2 separate regions of the Homo sapiens genome follow, and region 1 is linked to region 2. Evidence: promoter capture Hi-C in 16 types of primary human blood cells and fetal thymus (Javierre and others, 2016). All regions are on one chromosome and are shown on one strand. Each heading gives the region's core, a stretch centred on a gene start or on the middle of the fragment in contact. The rest is flanking DNA. Distances are from core to core; before and after follow the strand shown.

What was found. The method cuts DNA at HindIII sites, captures the fragments that hold promoters and counts their contacts. A CHiCAGO score of 5 or more calls a contact.
Region 1: a fragment that was not itself captured here is called in contact with the fragment with the promoter of APLN in region 2 in 4 of 17 cell types (neutrophils, activated CD4 T cells, total B cells and 1 more); the score reaches 8.4 in neutrophils.

Annotation. Positions count from the first base shown.
Region 1 is chrX:130,193,750-130,199,731 of GRCh38, forward strand. No RefSeq gene overlaps it. Among named protein-coding and RNA genes, the nearest start is that of RAB33A, 25 kb to the left of the region's middle. The HindIII fragment of the contact is 2,551 bases long and covers 1,880-4,430 here.
Region 2 is chrX:129,650,439-129,656,923 of GRCh38, forward strand. APLN (apelin) reads right to left here and starts at 4,518. Exons shown (of 3, transcript NM_017413.5): 1 at 4,126-4,518. The coding sequence starts at 4,192. RefSeq lists enhancers at 1-15, 3,790-3,849, 5,542-5,631, 5,642-5,701 and silencers at 4,140-4,189, 4,280-4,359. The HindIII fragment of the contact is 20,761 bases long and covers 1-6,485 here.

The DNA of each region.
Region 1 (5,982 bases), core at 1,905-4,404, 540 kb after region 2:
TCTACTAAAAATACAAAAAATTAGCTGGGCCTCGTGGCCCTTGCCTGTAATCCCAGCTACTTGGGAGGCTGAGGCAGGAGAATCGCTTGAACCTGGGAGGCAGAGGTTGCAATGAGCCAAGATAGCGCCATTGCACTCCAGCCTGGGCGACAGAGTGAGACTCCGTTTCAAAACAAAACAAAACAAAACAAAACAAAACAAAACAAAACAGGCTGACCTAACCCCTACTCACCAATTCCAGGTAGAAACCCTGGCACCTCAGATAAAGGAGAGGTACCCCAGGCATTGTTGTTCTCCCTGTCTATTTAGGGAGATCACCAAATGAGAAGGATGATATCAGACCACATCTAGTTTTCAGTCTCGATGCTTCCAACCGAAATAATGACAATTATTAATAGCAGCTAACATTTATCGAGTGCTGTGTACTACTAAGTACAATGTTATATGCTTAATGTGGACCGTCATGCTTAATCCTCACATCACAATTACCCTCTGAGGTACAGAATGATCAAAGCTTCCTGCCGAAGGCCACATGACTGCAAGTGTTGGAGCAGACTAGAACTGAATGGTCTGAACCACAATGTTAATTTCCCTTATCTTTCTCTATTTCTCTCAACCCTGAGAGGAGGATGTGCTCCTGGGCCTGAAGTTAATGGTCCCATCTCTGCTTCATTTAGGATTAACTAGTAGATTAGATGGGAGTTGATGTTAGATGCCAGATATTATTTTATTGAAATTCAAGAAAATCCTGTAAAAATGATTTTCAATTCCATTTTGCAGAGGTGGAAACTGAGGTAATTTGTCATTCAGAAAATAAATGGTTATCAGGAAGTACTGACCTGTTCACATTATAGAGCACCATTTTCCTTGCCCTGGTTTTAATCAAATCAGAGCATTTTCTTTAATGGAAGGTCTGTACTATTCAAAGCTGACTTTTGATCTGTCGACAAGTAAACAATCCTTATCCGGAGATCGACAACTTCATTCCCTTCATTCTTAGCTGAATTCATTCTTAGGTCAGGCTTGGGCCCAGAACGTGGGGGTAAGGGTTGAGCAGGCTCCTGAGGAACAAATCATCCTCCCAGGAGGGGAGGGCAAGGCAGGGGGATGGAAAGTCTAGGAACGGATGGGCCAGCTTGAACAACTGAAACTTTTAAAAAAGAGGTATTTTAGAGGAGCTTCCTGCACCATTTGAAGGATGGGAAGAAATGACCTCCAAGGTCCTTTTCAGTTCTCCATTCCTCTGAACAACAAAAATAGTGATTGTGCACTGGTTTCTATGGCCATATGCATGTTAAGACAGCTATGAAGAGAACGAAGTTTTAGGTCTCTAGATAAGGATTGTTTACTTGTCAACAGATCAGAAGTCAGCTTCGAATAGTATAGACCTTTCAGTAAAGAAAGAAGGGAAGAGGGATTAAAACCAGAGCAGGAAAAATGGTGCTCTATAGTATGAACAAGCCAGTACTTCCTGATAACCATTTATTTTCAGAATGATGTTACCTCAGTTTCTGCATTTGCATAATGGAATCGAAAATCACCTTTATGGTATTTCCTTGAATTTAGATAAAATATAAAATGTATTTTATGCATAAACATTTGTGTATTATTCCTTATCCAATTCCCCTGACATAAAGGACACTTGTAAAGAATGAAAATGGAAGATCATTCATGTAGCGCCCAATCATTCAGTTTTAAAAATGAAGCTGTGCTGAATATGTCCTTCTTTTAAATTATTCAAAACTGAGGTAACTTGACCGCAAAGCCACTTGGAAGTTACCAAGAGAACTAAATCAACTGTTTGAAATTACTTCAAATTGTGGCCTTTAAGGATTTGACTCAATCAATAAGACAACTTGTTAAGTAGCTGAGTTTTCCAAGCTTGGGGTATCTACTAATTTATCAAGGATTCTTATGTTCTGAGGCACTGAAGATTTGCTAGATAGAAATACCCTCTTCTGTTATTTTATCAAGAAAAACACTTACACAACTTAACACTTTCCTTCGATTCTATGTTATGATAATCTAGTTAGGAGAACATACTGGAGAAGATAGACGAGGGGGAAAAATGGAGATAAGGGGAAAACAGAAAAGGACGATTTCAAGATTGAGTGAAAATATCCCTACTCTCTGAGAAAGTAAGGTATTTCTCAATCATTTTAAAAGTCCTACAAAAGGAAAGAACACTTTACTACTGCTATTTAAAATTACATGTTTTTGGCCAGGAACGGTGGCTCACGCCTGTAATCCTAGCACTTTGGGAAGCTGAGGCGGGTGGATCACCTGAGGTCAGGAGTTCGAGACCAGCCTGACCAACATGGGGAAACCCCGTCTCCACTAAAAATACAAAAAAAATTAGCTGGGCGTGATGGCGGGTGCCTGTAATCCCAGCTACTCAGGAGGTTGCGGCAGGAGACTCGCATGAACCCGGGAGGCAGAGGTTGCAGTGAGCCGAGATCGTGCCACTGCACTCCAGCCTGGGTGACAGAGCAACACCCTGTCTCAAAAAAAAAAAAAAAAAAGAAAAAAAAATTACGTTTTCATATAATTAATTGTATTGAATAAGTACCCAAGATTTCATTGATTCAAGATTCCTTTATTTCTGGAAGTGAATTACTGGTAATAATGAATAAAGAAGTTTCTTTTAAAGAAGGGGTTCTTTAGCACAAAAGGAATGCTTCCCTCCAGAGCAGACAGGATTCCGTAGTAGTTTTCAATAAGGCAGTGTCATTTCGTAGTCCTTAGACAGAAAAAGCCAGAGCTACGCTCATTTCCGACATTAGAGAATTATGCCACATGTAATTGAAGCACTGTGATAAGATGTCATCCACCCGACAGTTTGAAGGAATGTACTTCAAGACCTGGGAATTATAAGCCAAAGTTATGAATAACCACAATGTTGATGGATTGCCACTAAAACTGTCAGAGAAGATTCCACTGATGTGTTGTTTCCAGGGTCTCAGCAGTAGTGATAGTAACAGCAGTAACAGAATTAACAGCAATAACAGCTGAAGCAGCAGCAGGAGTAGCAGTAACATCAGCATTGTTTATTCATTGTCTACTCTGTCACGCCAGAGCCAAACGTTATACATATATAATATACAGATGGTCCTCGAGTTACAATGGTTTGACTTATGAGTTTTTTTTTTTTTTTTTTTTTTGAGATGGAGTCGTGCTCTGTTGCCCAGGCTGGAGTGCAGTGGCGCCACCTCGGCTCACTGTAACCTCCGCCTCCCAGGTTCAAGCAATTCTCCAGCCTCAGCCTCACAAGAAGCTGGGATTACAGGCACACGCCACCATGCCCAGCTAATTTTTGTATTTTTTTTTTTTAGTAGAGACAGGGTTTCACCATGTTGGCCAGGCTGGTCTTGAACTCCTGACCTTGTGATCCTCCCGCCTTGGCCTCCCAAAGTGCTGAGATTACAGGCATGAGCCACCGTGCCCGGCCAGACTTATGACTTTTGTTGTTGTTGTTGAGACAGAGTCTTTCTCCCTCGCCCAGGCTGGAGTGCAGGGGCACCATCTTGGCTTACTGCAACCTCCGCCTCCTGGGCTCAGGTGATCCTCCCACCTCAGCCTCCAGAGTAGCTGGGACTACAGGCGTGCACCACCACACCCGACTAATTTTTGTATTTTTAGTACAGACGGGATTTCCCCATGTTGGTCAGGCTGGTCTTGAACTCCTGGGCTCAGATGATTTGCCTGCCTCTGCCTCCCAAAGTGCTGGGATTATAGGCATGAGCCACCACGTCCAGCCAACTTATGATTTTTTGACTCTACAATGCTGTGAAAGGGATACACACACCTTCAGTAGAAACTGTACTTCAATTTTTTTTTCTGGGCTAGCAATATGCATTAGGAGATTCTCTCGTGATGCTGGGCAGTGGCAGCGAGCCACAGCTCTCAGGCAGCCATGAGATCACAAGGGGTAAACAACCAAAAACACATTGTACTGTGTTGCCAGTAGAGTTTGCCCAACTGTAGGCTAATGTAAGTGTTCTGAGCACATTCGAGGTAGGCTAGGCTAAGCTACGATGTTAGGTAAGTTAGGTGTGTTAAATGCATTTTCAAGTTATGATATTTTCAATTTAGGATGGGTATGTCATAATGCAACCCCATTGTAAGTTGAGGAGCGTTTGTGTATATATATTCCTTACAACTTTGCAAGAATATCACCATTACATGCCTCTCACTGATGAGGAAGCTGAGACTGAACAAGTTCAGGTAATTTACTCAAGGCTACACAGCTGTTCAGATACAAAACCAGGATTGAAACCTAGGACTGTTATTTCGAGGCTACACTCTCTTCAGCAGCCCCCCCAGCCACCGAATATCACAGTGGTATGGACAAACAGATATTTTTCAGTGTGGAGGATTAGAAACAGTAGAAGTCATGCACAGCAGCCTCTCCAAGTTTGTTGATGATATTAAGCTTTTTCAGGTGGTCAAATACCAAACTGACAAGAATCAAACTGCAGAAGGGTTTCAAAATCAGAGAAGAGAGGTATATGAGTATGAGCATGAGGTGAACTATGGTGTGGCCAAGTATAAGGTAGCATAATATAGGGGAAATATCTTAATACTATTAGATTGGTGCAAAAGTAATTGCGGTTTTTGCCATTGAAAGTAATGGGAAAAACCGTGATTACTTTGGCACTAACCTAATATTTATAAATGACAATTACGACTAAAGTGAACCCAGGAGCATTGATAGACATTCCTTAAAAATATTAGTCTGGTGAGCTTGAGAAACCAAGAAATATAATGGTATGCTTATCTTTAGTACTATGTGCTTCAACAGTGACCCTCAAGAAAGCCACTGGGTTAGGAAAAGAGAGTTAATAGTCATTGATTGTGAAGGTGGTGTGAGGAGGCTGGAATGAAAAACTGGGTGAAGATTCGAACTATTTCTATCTGAATAAAATTAAGACAAATAAAATCAGGAAAGGTAGTCACAATGTAGCAATAATCGTAACAATGTTGGATTGCATTCCTGTGTGCCAATCACTGTTCTAAGTGGGATATACATATACTGTATTAACTCAATTAATTCCCTCAATTCTGAGTAGATGCTGTTACATGCAATTTACAAATAAGGAAAATGAGACACAGAGCCTAAAGTCACACACACAAATCTAATCACTGGTAGGGGAGGAATTCCAACCTAGGCAGTCTGCTGCAGAGCCTGGGCTCTAACCACTCCACTGCACTGCACCTGTAAGGGTGCAGAGAGGGTTTACTGCAGAGTCAGGTATTGAATCTTGGACCTTGTAATCCTAGTATTAAGACACTCTCTTGAAGCTGTTTAAACAGGAAGTAAGACTTTACAGAGTAAGAAACTCGTTAATGGATAATAGGCTGAAAATAGTAATAGTTCCAAGAAAAGTAGGTAGATTAATAAGCCAAGCATGAGTTACAGAGAAGCTAGATACGATTAAGTCTGAAACTTCTCGAGTTTGAAATCATGTAAAGTGACTGTCCGTTATGTATTCCTTAGATTTTATGAACACAATGACCATACTATTTTTCCTGATATAATTTCCAAAAATATGAAAATGATTTTTTGAGAGCCTTGCTCTGCCACCCTTGAGTGCAGTGTGTGGGTTTATTTCTGGACTCTCATTCTATTCCACTTCTCTTTTTCTACCCTGTGGCAGGACCACACTGTTCTGATTACTTTAGCTTTGTGCCAAGTGTTTTTTCTTTTTTTTGATGGAGTCTCACTCTGTCACCCAGGCTGGAGTGCAGTGGTGCGACCTTGGCTCACTGCAACCTCCGCCTCCCGGGTTCAAGTGATTCTCCTGCCTCAGCCTCCCAAGGAGCTGGGATTACAAGCGTGTGCCACCACACCAGGCTAATTTTTGTATTTTTTGGTAGAGACAGGTTTTCGCCATGTTGGCCAGGCTGGTCTCAAACTCCTGGCCTCATGATCCACCCGCCGCGGCCTCCCAAAGTGCTGGAATTACATGCATGAGCTGCCAC
Region 2 (6,485 bases), core at 3,268-5,767:
ACACCCAGACATACCCACCCCCTCCACACACACACACATAAACACATATTCTCCAAGCCTGCACCCTCCTTCCCTCTTTCCCCAAGAAAAATTGCCAGGCCCATGAGGACCCCGCTGTTGACTTGGGTCATTTGGTTAACTAGCCACACTTCCGTGCCAACTTATCCCTTAAATTCATAACCTATGAGAATTAAAAGAAGAATTATCTTAGCACTTTGGAGCAGTAAGTATGGATGGAACAAGGGGGCTGCTTCTGTCTGACTGTCATAGAGCTACCCTCTTGGCGCCATCTGTGAGGGGGCTGGGGCTGGAGAGGGAAAGGAAGGAAAGACCTTCACTAAGCTCCCCACTGCAGCTGCTTCAGCCTCTGCCTTGAGTTCTGGGGTCCCCACAAGGCTCACCCTGATCACTGAGGGCGGATCTGAATGATGCTGATAAGGAGCAGGGGAAGGACCTAGGGGCCTTGTGAAGTGAACCAAGTCAACACTTGGCTCTCACCTCTGCACCTTCGACTGCTGGGGGTGCAGAAGGGATGGGGCAGTGGTGCAGGCCATTGTAGCTCAGGGTGGTGGCAGACATGGAGAAGAGAAGCATGGTGCCAGGAGGGGGAGGGCATCATCTCCAGGTGCTCAGATTGTGAGTGTCTGGCAGTCAGAAAGGGAGGGCTAGAGGCCATATGTCAGGATGGGGAGCAGGGTTGGTGGCTCTGGCCAGGAAGATGTCTAGACTCTAGGTCTGCAGAGAAGAACCACTCTGAGCTGACTGAACCCCCAGCCGGGCCCTGGAGAGCAGCCCCAGGCTTCTTGCATCCCTCCCATTGCGTTGGGGACTCATTGTCCTCAGCATCACCGAGATCTGCTGGCTCCTCCCGCACTCTGAGCCCGTCACCCACCTGTTTCCTACTTTTGATTCTGAGTCTGGCTCACCATCAGATAAGCTGACATCTGAAACCCTGGCTTTATGCTGTCCAAAGGAACAAATTAGAGGCTGTTGATTCTCATCACTGCAGAAGTCTTGACTGTAAAAAAGAATTCCCCTTTAGAAATGGAGGCCAGCCCTAATGCACTTAAATATTTTCTTCCAGCTCATTTGCTACGTAAAAGGAGGCTGGAGCAATCCTCCAAACAATCTCGAGCCTAGAGAGATTGGAGCCATTGCCTGCTGAAGTGCCATCAGCCACGAAGCTACAACATCTCCACGCTGAGAACCACAGTCAGGGGGAGGACAGGATTTGACTTTCATGCTATCTGAACTCCAACCCTGCCAATGCACAAAGAGGTACTTGCGACTTTTCAGGAACATGCCAGTCTCATCAGGAATGACGCACCTGTTTTTCCTCTCTCAGTCTGGCCTGTCTTGTGATGACTTTAAAAGCCCAAACGTATGCTCCGGTGGGGACCCTGCTGGCAATGCCCCTCCACTGCTCTGTGGTCCTGCATGTGTCTCTTTGTCTGCCCAGCCCCCCATCCCAGTCGCCTTCTCCAGGGCCCTGTGCTGTCTCCAGTGCCAGCTTTGCTGCCCTGGGATACATCATGCTCTGTCTGGTGGCCCTCTGCTTCCCTTGCCTTAGTTCTTTGCGAGGAGAGGCCTGGCTCAGGTTACACGGGTGCTTAGTGCTGAGGACTGGGGATGGAGTAGAGATGCCCTTCCCTGAGCAGGAGGGGTACAGTAGGCTCTCCTCACACTCCCACTGTGACTGCAGGCTTTGAGCTGGGCCTGCGGAGGGGGAGGAGAAGGGGAAAAAGAGGGGTGCTCAGAGACCGAGGGACACTTGGCCCTGGACCAGGAGTTCTCAGACTCACAAGAGCAAAGTGTATCCCAGGTCAGGAGGCAGTGGAGGAGTGTACGTGGTGGTAGCGGGGTGATGAGAGGCAGCGTGGAGAGGGGTCGGGGGTGGACATTTCAAGTCAGGACAGACTGTGGAGAGGAGGAAGTGTGGTTTTCAGGCTGGAACTTTGACTGGGGACTCTGGCTGGGGACAGCATGCCAGTCCGGGCCAAGGACAAAGTGGTTCTGGGATTCCTGCTTCTAACCCAGGACAGGAGCCAGCGGGAGCAGGACATGTGTACCTGGACCCTTGGCTGGTGGCCACTTCCAGGGACATGCCCTTCCTTGGCTCCAGGAGAAGTCAGGGAGTAGAGAAGTCAGTGAGAGCCCTGAAAGTTTCCAGCACGAGGCTTGAGCAAAATGTGAGGGCAACGAATTTATCCAAATCACAGTGGACAGATGACCTAATGAAGACGGGGGAATTAAAGCACGAAGTGGCAGGCTCTGGACCAGCCACATGGTGTTCGGGCATCCTGGCTGACTTCCCTTCCCTTGAAACCAGCTCTCTCCCCTTTGCTAGTACTGTCCCAATGGCTGGGACCCAGGAGGGTCTGAGTGGTTGTCTATTGGCCAGGGGTCTCCCCACAGCCTCTGGGGGGAGCACCAAGTGTGCAGATCCAGGAGCCCTACCTTCCTCTGGAACACTCTCTGCACCCAGTCTTCTTCTTCCCTGAAGGCACCACCCTGGACTATTTGCCTGTGGTGGTATTGTGCAAGTGTCATGCCTTGCCAATGACACCAGATGGTAGGCTCCCTGAGGATAGGCTGGTATGGTGTATCATTCGTATCTTACATTCGTATCTTTTGCTCCCTCTGTTACCTGCCTGACAGGAGTTTCTGTGGAAAAAGCCTACCCACTTCTTACTGTGGTGGTGGCTCACTTCGTGTTCAGGTCTTGAATAGAGAAATCACCGGCCAGCTACCTGGAGGCAGGAGGTGCCAGCCCCAACCACTGCACCTTTCTGAGAAGCCAGGCAGTGTTCCCAGAGCCACAGCAGGGCCAAAAAGCAAGAGCAGAGAAAGGAGGTGGCCTGCGATGAGAGGCAGGCAGAGCTGGCTGGGCCCCTCGGAGGCTCCTGGGCTGCATGCCATCCTCCTGTTCTGGAGGGTTTGGAACCACTTAGGGCCCTGTGCCCTTGCCCCAGGAAACTCACTGCCCTGCCTTCTCCTTCTTTCTGCTCCCACCTCCCTGTGACTCCAGCCATGGTCCTGGCGTTAGTCCACCTGGTCTTGGCCTTCCCCTTGTGTGGTGCCAGGCAGGCAGCAATGACAGCCAGATCATAGGACTGTGGCAGCTGGAGGTGGGAGCTGGCAGCCCCAGGAGACATTGACACAGAGGACAGGCAGCCTGGGATGGGGCTGCTGGGGCGTGGTTGGGGACCAGGCTAGGGGCGGACATGGGCACTAGTGCCAAGTATTGGCAGGTGAGGGCAAAAGGACTCCCCTTTCCTGAGCTGCAGGGAGGGGTCGGGTCAGGTGCTGTGCTTCCTCCTTTGGTGCCTAGCGGCAGGGAGACTAAAGTGAAGCATGTCCGTGCCTGGGACAGAAAGGAAGGCTGGAGCCAGGATGTAAGAGAACCAAGTCTCTGGGGGTGGGATGGAGGCTATGGGGAGGGCATCCTGTGCAGGGGAGGAGACCAGCCAGGACCTTGGGGTTAGGGAGGAGAAGACCAGCCCAGCCCGGCTGGGCCCGGCCCTGCCTGGGGGAGGCTGCCTCTGCTCACACATGCAGGCCGAAAGGAGCAACAGCTGGGCTCCATGCCGCCACCCCCTCCGCGCACTCCTGCCTATGCAACAAGTGTCACGTCTGCATGTTGGCACATCATCCCCGGTTTCCCGCGCCCCTGGACTGGCGGGAGGCTCCCAGCCTTCAGGGACCAGAAGACGTTCAACATGGGAGCCCAGCCCACTCGACTCTGGTCAGTTCCTTCCATCGATCCACGAGGGAGCGGGCATGTCCCCCGCCTCCACCTCTACCACGCGGGGTGCAGGGCGTGGGACACGCGGCGCACACCTGTGGTCCTGAGCTCCTGGGACTGCGAGCGACGGTTAGGAGGGACAAGGTGACGGGCAGGTGATGCCAAAGGCCGAGTTGAGCCCCGCAAAAGAAGCAGTCCTTGTGGCCAGCCGCCCCATGGCTCGGGGCGCTCTGTCAATCTGCTGCCTGGCGCTGGCCGGCGCGTGGCTGCTACTGCACGGCTCGCGCCGGGCTCCCCGGGAGGCGGGGAGAGTGCGAATAGGGCGGAGGGAAAGGAGCACGCCGGCTGCAGCCCGGGCGAGCGGGAGGGCGCGCACTCACCTCCACACACCGCGGTCAAGGAGAGCCAGAGCAGCAGGAGCGCCTGCACGCAGAGCCGCAGATTCATGCTGCTCCTTGGGCCGCCGCGGCCCCGGCGAGCCGGCGCGGGGGAGGAGAGGTCGGGCGCCCGGAGGCCAAGAAAGGCGCGAGCCGCGGCTGGCGCGTGCGGGCGCAGAGCTCGGGAGGCTCCCCGGCCGCTGAGTGTGCGCGCTGAGCCCCGCCGCTCCCGCTGGCCGCCTCCGCTCTTCTGCAGCCTCCTCTCCCGCCGCGGGGCAGCGCCGCGAAGCTGGCCTCGGCGGCTCCGGGAGCGGCAGCGGCGAGCTCTTTCTTAGCGGCTGGCTGCTCGGCCGCGGCTGCAACTGCCCGTGACCCCGGCTGCCAGAGAGAATGCTCCCCGCTCACTCCAGGGGCTGCATTTTGTAGCTTGTGGCTTGGCCGCGAGCCCACTTGGTCATGTGGTCATCGGGAGGGCTAGAGGGGGGGCAGGAAGAGGGAGAGGGAGCGAGCCTCCCGCACCGCCCCCCTCCAGGCACGCACTCTGCAGCCCCAGCCCGAGCGTGAGCGCGAGAGGGAACCCCGAGGTGGCCCCACAACAAAGGCTGCGCGGCCTCTCTGACAACCTACAACCGCTCCCCGGACAATGCCCGCCTGGCCGGGGGCCAGAGGGTTTGCAGAGACCTGAAGGATTTCAAACACAGGAAGCATTTGGGGCGGTGGAGGGGCACACTTAACCCTTTCTCACCTTGCTTCCTTAACAGCTGTCAGGAAACCTGGGCGCTTAGGGAAGGACTCAGTCTGGGTTGCCTTCACTCACGCCCTCTACCTCTGACCCTGGTCCTTGCCCTTGCCGCTGGCCAGCTTCAAGGGTTTGGTCAAGACAACCAAACACTGGCCCTCCTCTCTCCTCTGCATTTTCAACTGGCTTTGAATTGGGGGTGACTGCCTAGGCTTGTGCCCAAGGCTTGATTAATTGCCCAGGCCCCTCATGTTCCCTGCATCCCCCAGGAGGCACCCTCTACCTGGAATGCCCCCACCCCACCCTTCCGTGAGCAATTCATTCTTTGCAGCAGCACCTCAAATCCCATCGCATCCAGAAGCCTTCTCAGGATAACACTAATCCAGCAGGGGCCGCCCATCAGCTCCTCCCCACTGTTGGGACATGGGACAGCTCCTATGGTCTACCCTTTCTTGTTCCCTGGAGCTGTCCTCATTCTAGTTCCCCATCAACGTAAGAGGCAGGTGGTTTACCCAACTCCACACAGTCAAGGCTGGATTCATTTTGCGTGTACTTGCGATTCCGCTTTAGAAGCGGGTCCTGAAGTTGTTTGCCTTTCCAGACTCGATTGTTAGCTGCTTCTATAGCTTGGGAGCTCCCAAGGCATGGGGCTGCTTCCCTCATTGGACTGGGAACCCCCTAAGGTAGGATACTGTCTTCTCACTCTTCTGGATCTCTCCAAAGTCCCCAATATCTTGCTCTGCACATAGGTGGCACTCAACACATATTAAAAGACTGAATCGAAAGGTGTCTCCACCTTTCAGCAAGCCAGGCAGTTTGCTTGAAGTGTTAAGTCCAGATTTACACAAAAGATACATTGGACAGGGTGCGTGTGTGCCATAAAAGACATGAGAGACCATGGCATATTTAAAATATCTTTGAAATGTTGCAAAAATCCTATATATACACAATGTATTTATTATCAGTCTCTCTCCACCAGAAGGGTTACCTCCACAAGGGAGGGATCTTTGCTTTGTTCACAGCTGTGTCCCCAGACCTAGAACAGTACCTGCGACATGACTGGTACTCAATACATAATTTTGAATATATAAATGAAATTTTCAAAAACATCTTTACTGCCTAAATTCAGGTAGCAGGAAGGGAATAAGATAAGGTTCTCATTAATAGCCTATGGCCCATTAACCACACTCAAGTAAAAAAAAAAAGCATGTGAAGCATGGCACCCCTCTTCATCCTTGAGACCCAGGATATGAGTAGCAGACATGGGTAGCAGGAGACCATTCTCCCTTCACTGTTCCCCTGGAAAGAGTTTGCTTTCTTTCTCTTTTCTTTTTCTTTTTTTCTTTTTTCTTTCTTTCTTCTTTTTTTTTTTTTTTTTTTTGAGACCGAGTTTTGCTCTGTCGCTCAAGCTGGAGTGCAATACCCTATCTCAGCTCACTGCAACCTCCGCCTCCCAGGTTCAAGCGATTCTCCTGCCTCAGCCTCCTGAGTAGCTGGGATTACAGGCATGCGCCACCATGCCCGACTAATTTTGTATTTTTAGTAGAGACGGGGTTTCACCAGGTTGGTCAGGCTGGTCTCGAACTCCTGACCTCAGATGATCCACCCGCCTCGGCCTCCCAAA